Regions from separate parts of the Homo sapiens genome. Here region 1 is linked to region 2. The links are contacts of gene promoters, found by promoter capture Hi-C in blood cells and fetal thymus (Javierre and others, 2016). All regions are on one chromosome and are shown on one strand. Each heading gives the region's core, a stretch centred on a gene start or on the middle of the fragment in contact. The rest is flanking DNA. Distances are from core to core; before and after follow the strand shown.

The links. Contacts are between HindIII fragments. The CHiCAGO score rates a contact against its expected background, and 5 or more counts as called.
Region 1: a contact is called between a fragment that was not itself captured here and the fragment with the promoter of RCAN3 in region 2, in 1 of 17 cell types (naive CD4 T cells). The highest score is 5.9, in naive CD4 T cells.

Annotation. Positions count from the first base shown.
Region 1 is chr1:25,019,712-25,024,943 of GRCh38, forward strand. It overlaps MIR4425 (microRNA 4425), which reads left to right and starts at 3,792; the gene lies at 3,792-3,875. RefSeq lists enhancers at 1-635, 894-1,422, 1,423-1,949, 2,428-3,990, 2,890-3,419 and 1 more. The HindIII fragment of the contact is 809 bases long and covers 2,884-3,692 here.
Region 2 is chr1:24,499,625-24,505,120 of GRCh38, forward strand. RCAN3 (RCAN family member 3) reads left to right here and starts at 3,212. Exons shown (of 5, transcript NM_013441.4): 1 at 3,212-3,526. It overlaps RCAN3AS (RCAN3 antisense RNA), which reads right to left and starts at 2,758. Exons shown (of 2, transcript NR_144360.1): 1 at 2,724-2,758. RefSeq lists an enhancer at 1,898-1,997 and silencers at 2,601-2,773, 3,055-3,554, 5,061-5,261. The HindIII fragment of the contact is 2,473 bases long and covers 2,003-4,475 here.

The DNA.
Region 1 (5,232 bases), core at 2,038-4,537, 520 kb after region 2:
GGGCCAGACCCGCATGCAGGAGTGTGCAGGCATGTGGATGCGTGCACACACACTCCCGCACATACATGCCTGCACACACACACACCTGCACACATACACATGCCTGCACACACACACACCCCTGCACACATGCATACATGCCCACACACACACACCTACATGCCTGTGCACACACACACCTGCACACACGCATACATGCCTGGACACACACGTACATGCCCGGACACACACATGCCTGCACACACACCTGCGCGCACACACACCTGCACACACACATACATGCCTGCACACGCACACATACATGCCTGCACACACACATTCACATACATGCCCACACACACATGCACACACATACCTACCTGCATACACACACCTACACACACATACATGCCTGCACACACACATTCACATACATGCCTACACACATGCATACACACATACATTCTTGCATGCACACATCTGCACACACATACATACCTGCACACACATATTCACATACATGCCTACACACACGTGCACACACATACATGCCTGCACATACACATGCACATGCATGCCTACACACATGGGTGCACACAAACGTGAGCACACACATGTGCTGAACAAGGCCCCAGGAAGCCTCCAGCACAGGCCAAGAGAACGGCTCCCTCTACACTCGTTTATTCACTCCACAAACCAACTGAGCACCTACCAATGTCAGGCACAACCCCTGCCCCTGGAACTCACACTCTAGTGAGAAAAATGTCAATCACGCCTATCGAAATAATGACTATTCCTCACACATTCACGAGATTTTGCTCATTTAACCCTCAAAGCAGCCCTCTGGAGTCGGGGGGTCTCTGCTGCACAGATGAGAAAATGGGGTTCTGAGAGGCGTGGCACCATGCCCTGCTCGAAGCTCCAGAGCCGGCGATTGGCAGCCCCACTCAGATGGGTCTGGGGAGGGCTCTCTACTTCCTCTCGGTGACTTCTGTCTCCCCTGCCCTCTGCAAAAGCGGAGGCTGTGGGGATGTGGCCCCTGGCGCTAGGAGCAGGCCTGCTGAGGGGCCTGGCTGCTCCCTCTAGCCCCACTGTGGCCCTGGACAAGCCTTTCTCTTCCCACCCCTGCTGCCCATTGCACAGAAGCAGACATGGAGTCTGAGAGGACAGTGGCCTCGTGAGGTGGCCGAGCTGGGCACTGCGTTAGAGACAGGGAGGGGGCAGCTTCTGCCACCCACATCCCCAGATCAGTCGGTCCATGAGTCCTCACTGAGCCTGGTCCTGGCTGGATGCTCTGCCAGGCACACAGGGACAGCCCAGCCCAGGGCCTCCATGTTGCTTCCCACGCTACCAGGCCCGGGAGCACCAAACTCCTCGAGTACCAGGAAGCGAGCCCGCACACACCTTAGCTGCAGGTCCTAGCACCCCCGCCTTTCCCAGCCTCATACTCTCTGGACAGACAAGAGACTCCCCCTCACCCCAGGACCTACAGCCTACGGAGGCCTGGAGCCACCCAGCCTGGGCCGCAGGGACCTCAGGGAGGGTGCAGACGGGGGACGGAGGGCACAGGCCAGGGCCCTAACACCAGGCAGAGCCGTCCACAGTGGGATCGCCCACCTCGTTGGCTGCCTGGAGCATGGCCACCCTGTCCTGCATGTGAACTCGGGAGTGGGGAGAGCAGAGAGAGGCGGGGGCCGTCATTCAGCCTCTTGGAACTATTCTTGTCAGTGCCTCGTTCCTGGAAGCCTCTTTGGGCTGGGCCCTGTGTACAGGCAGAGGTTGGTGTGGGAGGGGAAGGCTGGGGTGTGTGTCTCTCACTGGAAGCCCTTGGAAAACCCCTCCCCTCCTTCGGGGCAGCCCCTGCCCTCAATTTGCTTACAGTCTGTTCCAAGCTTCTCAATCCATCAGATCAACTAGAGGAACTTTATAAAATGCAGGTTCCTGGGCTCCTTCCCAGTCTGCTGAATCCTAATCTCAGGGCTGGAGCCCTGGAATCTGTATTTTTTCAAAGCCTCGAGACCTGGATGAGAAGGCAGCACTGAGATCCCCTGGCCCAGGTTCTGGCGACTGCTCATGATTATTTTTTGGACCCCGTCGGTGGGATGCTGTCTTATTTAATCCCATGTCCCTGCAAAGGATCCAGTAGATGCCAAATGAATGTTTGCTGGCAGTACTGGTGGGTTGGGCAGGGTATGGACTCACCTAGAGGTATGCCTGGACCTCCCCCGGCCTGCTGTGTGACCTTGGACAAATCACTGCCCTCTCTGGGCCTTGGCTTAGAGGGTCTCCAAAGGCAGATATTTAGTGAGCCACTGATGGTCACCAAGGGCTGCCCGAACATCCAGGAGGTGATCTTACTCCCAGCGTGGGAGGGAACCAGACTGGCCTCCAAGGCATCTCTGGGATTCCCTTAGTTTGCCTTCTGAAAAATGGGCCCGGGCCATGGAGGCATCCTGAACTGCACTGCTCTCGCATGGACAACAGAGAGGGCATTCTTCCACACCTAAGGGAAAGAATATTTACCAACCCCTGGGGCCGCCCCTGAACCCTGGCCTAGGCCTGAGGGCTGAGCTGAGGGGTTATGAGGACCCCTGGCCTCTCCCTTGCCCCTCCCCCTCCTACCCCACCCCCACCCCCTGCTGTGGGCGAGGAGCAGGTGCCTGGCTTCCACTTCTTAGAATCCCTGTGAGGCCCTGGGGTGGGGGTGAGCTCATTTACGGGAAGGGGGGGATGGGGGGCTCTCTTCTCACCCGGCCCTGCTGGAGGCGGGGGGGGACAGCAAGTGCGTAAGCAGCCCCAGCTCCCGGCCTGCCTCCGGAAATGCCGCCCAGGGCTCAGTCACGAACCTAGCCAGGCAGGGGGGCACAGCCAGAGCACTCAGGGGTGTCAGGTGACCTGCGAGGAAGCTTGGCTGGGGGCCTAGAGGCTGCACCGGGGTGCACAGTGAGGTCAACTTCCCCCTTCCTGGGCCTGCACCCTGACACAGGGGTGTGCACCCCACGGCCCAGCTGGATGTGTCTCCTGCTGTCTGCCTATCTGTCTGCTGTGCCCTGGCCCACCGTGGGCTCTGGGCCTCTGCTGGGCTCCCCTGGCACCCATGGGGCCTGAGTTCTCATCAACAACCTGCTTCAAGGGGTGCGTGTCAGGGTCCTGGGGTATGGGGGAGACCCCAGCCAGGTCCTGGTGCGGACAGCCCTGCTTCCCTACCCCCTCTCCCCTTCCCTCCCTCCTCCACTTCTCTCTGCAGCTATTTAAAGCAAGTGGTGGCGTGGGAAACTTCTTCAGATGTGTGGTTTCATCTTCTTCAGCACAGGGACGGGGCGTCTGCTCGCTCTGGTGACTCATCCAGAGTGAGAAAAGCCTTTTTGTTGTTTGATGCTCGCTGGAGGCTCTGTAGCCTGAGAACCTGGCCCGATGGGGCCTTCCCTGCTGAGACTCCTGGGAGGCCTTGGGAGTGCCCAGGGCAGCCCTTTTGTTCCATCCCCAGACCCAGGGAGCCCGGGACCAGTGGAGCCCCTGAAGCTGAAATACTCTGCTTAGAGTGAGCCTTCCTGACTGGTGGGTGGGGCAGGGGTGGCCATTCTCAACACCCAGCTCAGCCACCACCTCCTCCAAGAAGCCTCCCTGATTCCTCCAAAACCTCAGTCGATCTCCACCTTATTCAGTCCTCTAACCCTCAGTCTTCTTATCTATGAAATGGAGCAGTGGGTCCAAGCTTCACAGATCTGTGTGAAGATAAACTGCGGAACACACACAGATGCTCAGTAGGTGAGATTCGTGGTAAGATTTATTGAGCATTTATTGTGTGCTAAGTGCTTTACATGAATGGTCCCATTGAATCCCAACAGCTTTGCGAAGTGTTGTTGGGATTCAGCAGGACCATTCGTGTAAAGTAATATTCCCATTTTACAGATGAAGAAACTGAAGGATGGGGAGGGGGTCAAGTAATTTATACATTGTCTCATAGTTAGTAAGCAGCAAAGTGAGATTCAAACCTAGGCCATGTGATGCCAGAGCCCCAGCCTTTAGCCACTGTGCCAACCTGTCCCTGGCAAACGTAACTAATAAGGATTTGGACTCAAGGCTATAAAGGGCATGCCCCTTCTGTTCAGAGGCTTTGCACATGCTCTTCCCCTGCCTGAAGCACTGACCCTTCCCCAATTGCCTGACTATATCCTCCCCAAGGCTCAGAGATGGGCTGGAAGGTCACTTCCTCCAGGAACTTTCCAGGATTGTCTCTGTCAGGTACCCTGGTGACGCACAGCGAGTCTCTGTGTACTCACTACCACGGCAGCTAAATCACTGTTTCCGCCTGTGTCCTCACCCAGACTGTGAGTGTCCCCAGGGTAGAGATGGGTCTGGCCTCCCATTGCCCCATCCCCACGGCAAGCACAGTCTCTGGCACACAGTAGGTCCCCAAGGTTTGTGGACTGAATAAGTACCACCAAGGTGGCCAGAGGCTGGGAGAAGCCTGGAGCACCAATGGCCATGAAAATTTTCCAGAAGCTTCTCTGTCATTATACAGAAATCCCTTTGATGCCCCCTGGAGAACACAGGCCTTGAAACTGCTGCCTGATGAGGGTTTGGGGGAGACAGGCGGTCTCAGAGTAGCCTACTCTCCCAGGGCAGCTGTGCCACGGGCTATTGGAGATCCCGGGCTATTTGTGATGGCCTTGGAGCATTATGGGAGCAGGGAGGAAGGTCCCCTGTCCTGCTGCCACTCTCTGCTACCCTGAAGTCCCGTAAGAAAGGACCACTCAGCTCCATCCTTGGGAGTCGAAAGATCACCAGGGCCAGAGAGAGGTTCTGGGAAGAGGTGGGCACAGAGAGTCTTGGGGGTCCAGGGTCTTGGAGGAGCTGGGGTCCCTTGAGTGATGGACTTCAAAGTGAGGCTGGGCTGCCCCCATTGAAGGAACAGCAGCCGCCATCTAGAGATGTCCAGTGAGTGCCTCGAGCACTGCCATTGATGCAGACAGCTGTGGCCTCAGACCTGGATCCTGGCAGCAGAGGCCATCAGTGGACCACAGCGTGCTTCCCAGTGGCCATGCCAGGGTGGGTGGGGAGCAGCTTATCTGACCACAGACCAGCCATGCCAGCAAAGGCGCTGCCGTTTCTGCCCACATAAGGGCTACAGTGGCTGCAGCAGCCACGCCAACAGGGGCAATGCAGTGTTCAGGGGGTGCAGCCAGGCCAGCAAGGGGGGAAAGGATAGATGACCACGGAAGAAGCCACAGCAGCAGCCACGCCAGGTAG
Region 2 (5,496 bases), core at 1,962-4,461:
GCAGGGGCCAGAGGAATAATACCCTTACCTTCCTCCTCCTCCAACCCTCGGGTCTCATTTCCAATGTCTTCTATTTGGTGAATTCAACTGTAAGTCAGAGGACAAGGGATCTGTGGAAGCAGTCCATGCAGGTTGGCCTCTTGAGGTTCAAATCAGGAAGGAAAAGGGTGGAGAGTAGGTCTGGAAGGGCCAACAGAAATGATCTAGCACAGGAAGCCACCTCTCCCCAAATCTCAGTCCACGCGATTTGTGAGGAGCTGTCAGAATGTTCCATGCCCCTTCTCAGGAGAGTGGTTTAGTGATGCACGGGTAACACAAGTTAGACCAATGGGATGTAGTCCTGGGACTTTTGTTGACAGCATCAGGGAAAAGAAACTCCCTTTCTGCTGGAAAGGGTGTGATCTGAAATTGTAAGCAGCCATTCTGCCATCTCATGGGGAAAAGGAAGCCTAAGAACGCAAAGTCAACAGGAAATAGAGTCAAGAAATGGAGGCCGGGTGCGGTGGCTCACGCCTGTAATCCCAGCACTTTGGGAGGCCGAGGTGGGCAGATCACGAGGTCAGGAGATCGAGACCATCCTGGCTAACACGATGAAACCCCATCTCTACTAAAAATACAAAAAATTAGCCGGGCGTGGTGGCGGGCGCCTGTAGTCCCAGCTACTCGGGAGCCTGAAGCAGGAGAATAGCATGAACCTGGGAGGTGGAGCTTGCAGTGAGCCGAGATCGCGCCACTGCACTCCAGCCTGGGCGACAGAGCGAGACTCCGTCTCAAAAAAAAAAAAAAAAAATGGAGAGAAAAAACTTAATCCTAATGTCGTAGTTTAAGCCCCTGAATCCGGCCATGCCTGAAGCCCCAAACTTTTCTATTATGTGAGTCAATGCATTCCATTTGCTGCTTAACCCAGTCTGATTGATGTATTCCATGAAAAAAAGAGAATCTTGAATAATACTGGAAAATGCGAACCCCGTTCCCTGAACCATCATGTAGGATTGCTCACTTCTTCCTCTGCTTTGTCAGCACTTTGCAAATGTCTCAGTGCACAAATACAACTGTATCACAATCACTGTCTCCCCCATCTGTGAGCTCCTCAGGTGGCAGATCTCTATGGACCTTACCCTTGCAAGCCCAACACCCACACAGGGCCTAATACCTCAGGGAAACTAAATTAAGCTAATCTGGTTGTTTGACTTAGGATCTCTCAGGGCCATTTTTTTTGTGTGAACGTGCATCAGACATCTCCAGGCAGGGCTATGGAATGCAGCTGTTTCCAATCTCATTTGATGTGAAAACTCAATTTTTTGGCCAGGTGCAATGGCTCACGCCTATAATCCCAGCACTCTGGGAAGCCAAGGCAGGAGGATTGCTTGAGTTCAGGAGTTTGAGACCAGCCTGGGCAACATTGTGAAACCTTGTCTCTACAAAAAGTAGAAAAATTAGCCAGGCATGGTGGCATGTGCCTGTAGTCCCAACTACTCAGGAGGCTGAGATGGGAGGATCACTTGAGCCTGGATGGTTGAGGCTATGATTGTGCCACTGCACTCCAACCTAGGCAACAGAGCAGACCCATCTCAAAACAAACAAAAAAACACCAAAAAAAAAAAAAAAAACAACCCTCAATTTTTGCAAAAGTTGCTGTGTTAGAGGAATTTAGAGAAAAAATAATTACTATAGTCCTTAGAGTGACCTTGACAAAAGAAGCAGCTTGCCATCAATATTAGTTAAACGAATGAAAGTGAAGAACTTAGTTTAAGACAAGATGGGGAGCAGGAGCAGCACGGTTGGAGGCAGCAGGAACCACAGAAGCAGCAAGCAGGAAGTAGGAGGGGCGATCTGCTGGACATACCTCGGTGACTATGCTGGGCTCAACTGCTGGGGAGCCCTTGGGGTCATAATCCAACCCTGATTTCTTAGTTTACATCTAACAGGGATTAGATGTGCTGTACACATTTTAGTCCATCTTCCTGCCCCATGATGCAGGCGCTGAGTGCCTTTGATGTTAAGCTTCACTGTGCCTCACTTTGCCTCTGAAAGGTCTTGAGTGGGTAATGAGAGCTGATTTTCTTCTAACTGCACATTCCTTTTTTTTTTTTTTTTTGAGACGGAGTCTTGCTATGCTGTCCAGGCTGGTCTCAGACTCCTGGCCTCAACCGATCCTCCCACCTCTGCCTCCTGAGTTAGCTGGGACTACGGGTGCGCACCACTGCGTGACTGCGCGTCCTTGTAGGTGGGAGATGAGCCCAGTTATTTTCCCTGCTGTGTGACCCTGCTTCCTTCTCTGCCGGCTAAGGGAAGAGACACCAGCTGCCTTCCAAGTTGGGCTCAGGAGCTTTGTCATCATAGTTGTTATTGGTGGTAATAATACCTGCCAATGTAAGCCTCGGTCCTATCACTGAAACTCGCTCAACAGCTTAGACCCCGGCTCTTCCCTTTGCGTAATAGTTGTAATCATGTCCCATGGTCTCCTAAGGCGTCGGAGACAAGCAAGACTGCGTGGAAGGGTTTTTACACGAAAAAGAAAGCATTAAACATGTGGATTGTATGACAACGGTAGATAGGGCATAGGGTGAAGAGGAGTAAGAGGAGGAGGGAGAGCGGGAGGAGGGAGAAGAGCACGAGTGGGGAGGAGAGGAGGGGAGGGGATGGGAGGGGAGGGGAAGGAGTGGGTAAGGGGAAGAGGGTTGTACCCGCCAGGGCGGGACCCAGCCTGTGCCGTCCCACACCTTGTGCTAGCTCCAGCTCAGCTACCTGCGGCCGCCTCTCCTCGGGCAATGAGGCGCCGGGAAGCCCACAGCATCTGATAATATCCGGGCCGCCGGTTGCCGGGAGGTGAACCGAGGTAAACTCGCCGCGCGCGGGGCGCAGTGTACATAGTAACCAGCCCTGAGTAAACGTTCGTCATATTCCTATGAGCTGCTCCGGGGACTGTCCTACGGGGCTAGCAGGAAAAGGAGATCGGCTCTCTCCGCTCCCGGTGGAAAACGAGAAGGTCGCCAGAGGTCCTGTTTTCGGGGTGATCTAAAGCCCCCGCCCCAGCGCTACAGCCCAAGCCCCCCACAGGCTGGGGACCAGGAACCCGGAGGAGCGGGAGGAGGGCGCGCGCGGCGAGACACCCCCACCCCGGCCCCCGCGCGCCCCCGCCCCGGTCCCCGCCCGGGTCCCCGCCTTGTCCTGGGCTCTGGCGCCTGCGCCGCCGTGCGCGCGCCCTGCCAGAACAGGAGGGGACGAGGCGGGCGCGCGGCGCCGGCAGCCTAGCTCAGCCGGGACACCGCCCTAGTCCCAGCCCAGGGGGCCGCTCTCGCCGGCGTCGAGGGCGTGGCGGCGAGGCTGCTGCTGCAGGCGGCTCCCGGCTCTGCCTTCGGCCCCGCCCGCCGCCCACCAGGCTCCCAGAGGCCCCGCAGCTCGCGCCGTCCGGCTCCCCGCAGCCCCGTCGGGCAGCCCGGGCCCGTCCGCTGCCCTCCCGGCTCCCGTCCTGCGGCGGCGGGGCGTGCAGGTGAGGCCCCACGGCGCCCGGCCTCTCCAGCAGGTTTGCACCCAGCGCGGGGCGGGGCGGGGCGGGGCGGGTGGGGGGGGTGGTGCATGAAAAGTTAAAAAAAAAAAAAAAAAAAAAAAAGCCGCCCCGAGAAGTCCGGGAGGGGTGGGCACTCCGAGCCGCGGGACCGGGAGATGCTACCGCGCGCGACCTCGCCTCCCGCGACCTCGCCTCCCGCCGCACCCTTCTCGCGCGCGGGGTCTAGTCTGGCAGCCTCGAGGGTGGTGTCCCGGAAAACAAAACAAAAATGTTTTGTCTTCTCCACCAACGATTTTCTCCCACCAAGTGTGTTTGACCTTTTGAAAAGCCGACAGGCCCAGCCTGCCTGTGAAGGCAGGAGCGGTGTAGGGGCGCCTGGAAGGTGGAAGCCCCCTGTCTTTCTCCCTTGCCCCGCTTCCCCCACGGTGCGTGGATCACCATCGCATTAGTGACTCCCTAACTTCTTGAAACTTGTCTGTCTGCTTCTGTCCGCCGCCTGGACAGGTAGGGCAGGAGTGATCTGTTCCAGGTTGATTCTTCTAGCTTCCGTGCAAAATCTGATCATCTCCTTTAGAGATTAGGATTCTAGTGTAGGAAGCAATCCAGATCCGTGTTTCAGATACAAACAAGGATTATTTAAAGTGATGTTTTCCTGTAGTGCTGAAAGCCAAAAATATTCGCTTCCACTTGTTGGAAGCCACCAAGTACACCACATTTATTTGAACTTTTCATAGAAGTCTCTGATGTACTATTTGGCAAAAGAAGCAATTGATTTATCTGTAGCTGTGATTACATACGATGTAAAGTAATTTGTTTTAAGACTATTTCATTGGCTTTGGTTCAATATCTTAAACTCTGTAAACACATAATTCAGGAGCCAGATATGCATCACACAAATGTGTTCTTTTTGGTGGGGATTTAAATTGATCTAGAAATGGGCTTTCCATCCAGGAAGACTGTGAAAAGCTTGAAAACTGAGTCTCTTCTTTAGCCAGGTCATCAGCTTTACATTTTACTGCATTGGCAAGCCTTGCCTTTTCTTTTCTCTTCTCTTCTCTTTTCTTCTTTTTGAGACAAGGCCTCGCTCTGTCATCCAGCTGAAGTGCAGTGGTGCAAACACAGCTCACTGCAGCCTCAACTTCCCAGGATCAAGCGATCCTCCCACCTCTCAGCGTCCTGAGTAGCTGGGACTACAGATGCCGGCTAATTTTTTGTAGAGATTGGGTGTCACTATGTTGCCCAGGCTGTTCTTGAACTCCTGGGCTCAAGCCATCCGCCCACCTCTGCCTCCCAAAGTGCTGAGATTACAGGCATGAGCCACCGCACCCAGCCAAACCTTTTCTCTCTTAGCCTGAAAACAGATTTCAGTGCTTTTCTAGGAAACAAGATTTTTCCTGCTGTTGAAATATAACGTTTGTAAAGGTTTCAAACATGTGAACATTAGGTAACAGACAAGAGCAGATTTTATATGGTGTTAGAGTTGTTGGTTGAAGGACTTAAAGCATGAAAAATAGTGTGACGCGGAAATCCATTAGCCTGAAGCCTGTGAAATAATGGAAGCTCTAAAGTTCAACACCGTTTGTTACTTAGAAAAAAAACACAGAAGGTGGAGGTCGGACAGCAATCTCCACTTTTCCCCTAGAATGTAGAGGTTCTATCCAGGGAAAAGAAATTATACACAGCACAACAAATAGCATCAGTCTTATATATCTCAACTTCAGTTATTCTTTAAAACCTGTTGTTTTCATATGTTTTGTAGGCTGGTTTTTGTTGTTTATTTCTATCTGTCTCTTGCTGACAAATTCCTGGTGGAGTGGAACTTCAATTATAACAGGACCAATTCTAGGTTATCTGTGAAAACAAGACATGGGTCATTGAAACATACAAAATACAAAAATCAAATTTTCACCCGTTTTACTTTACTGTCGCACGAAATTTTTCTTACACACAGCTACTAAAAAATAGTACAGTTCTACCTGTAAGTG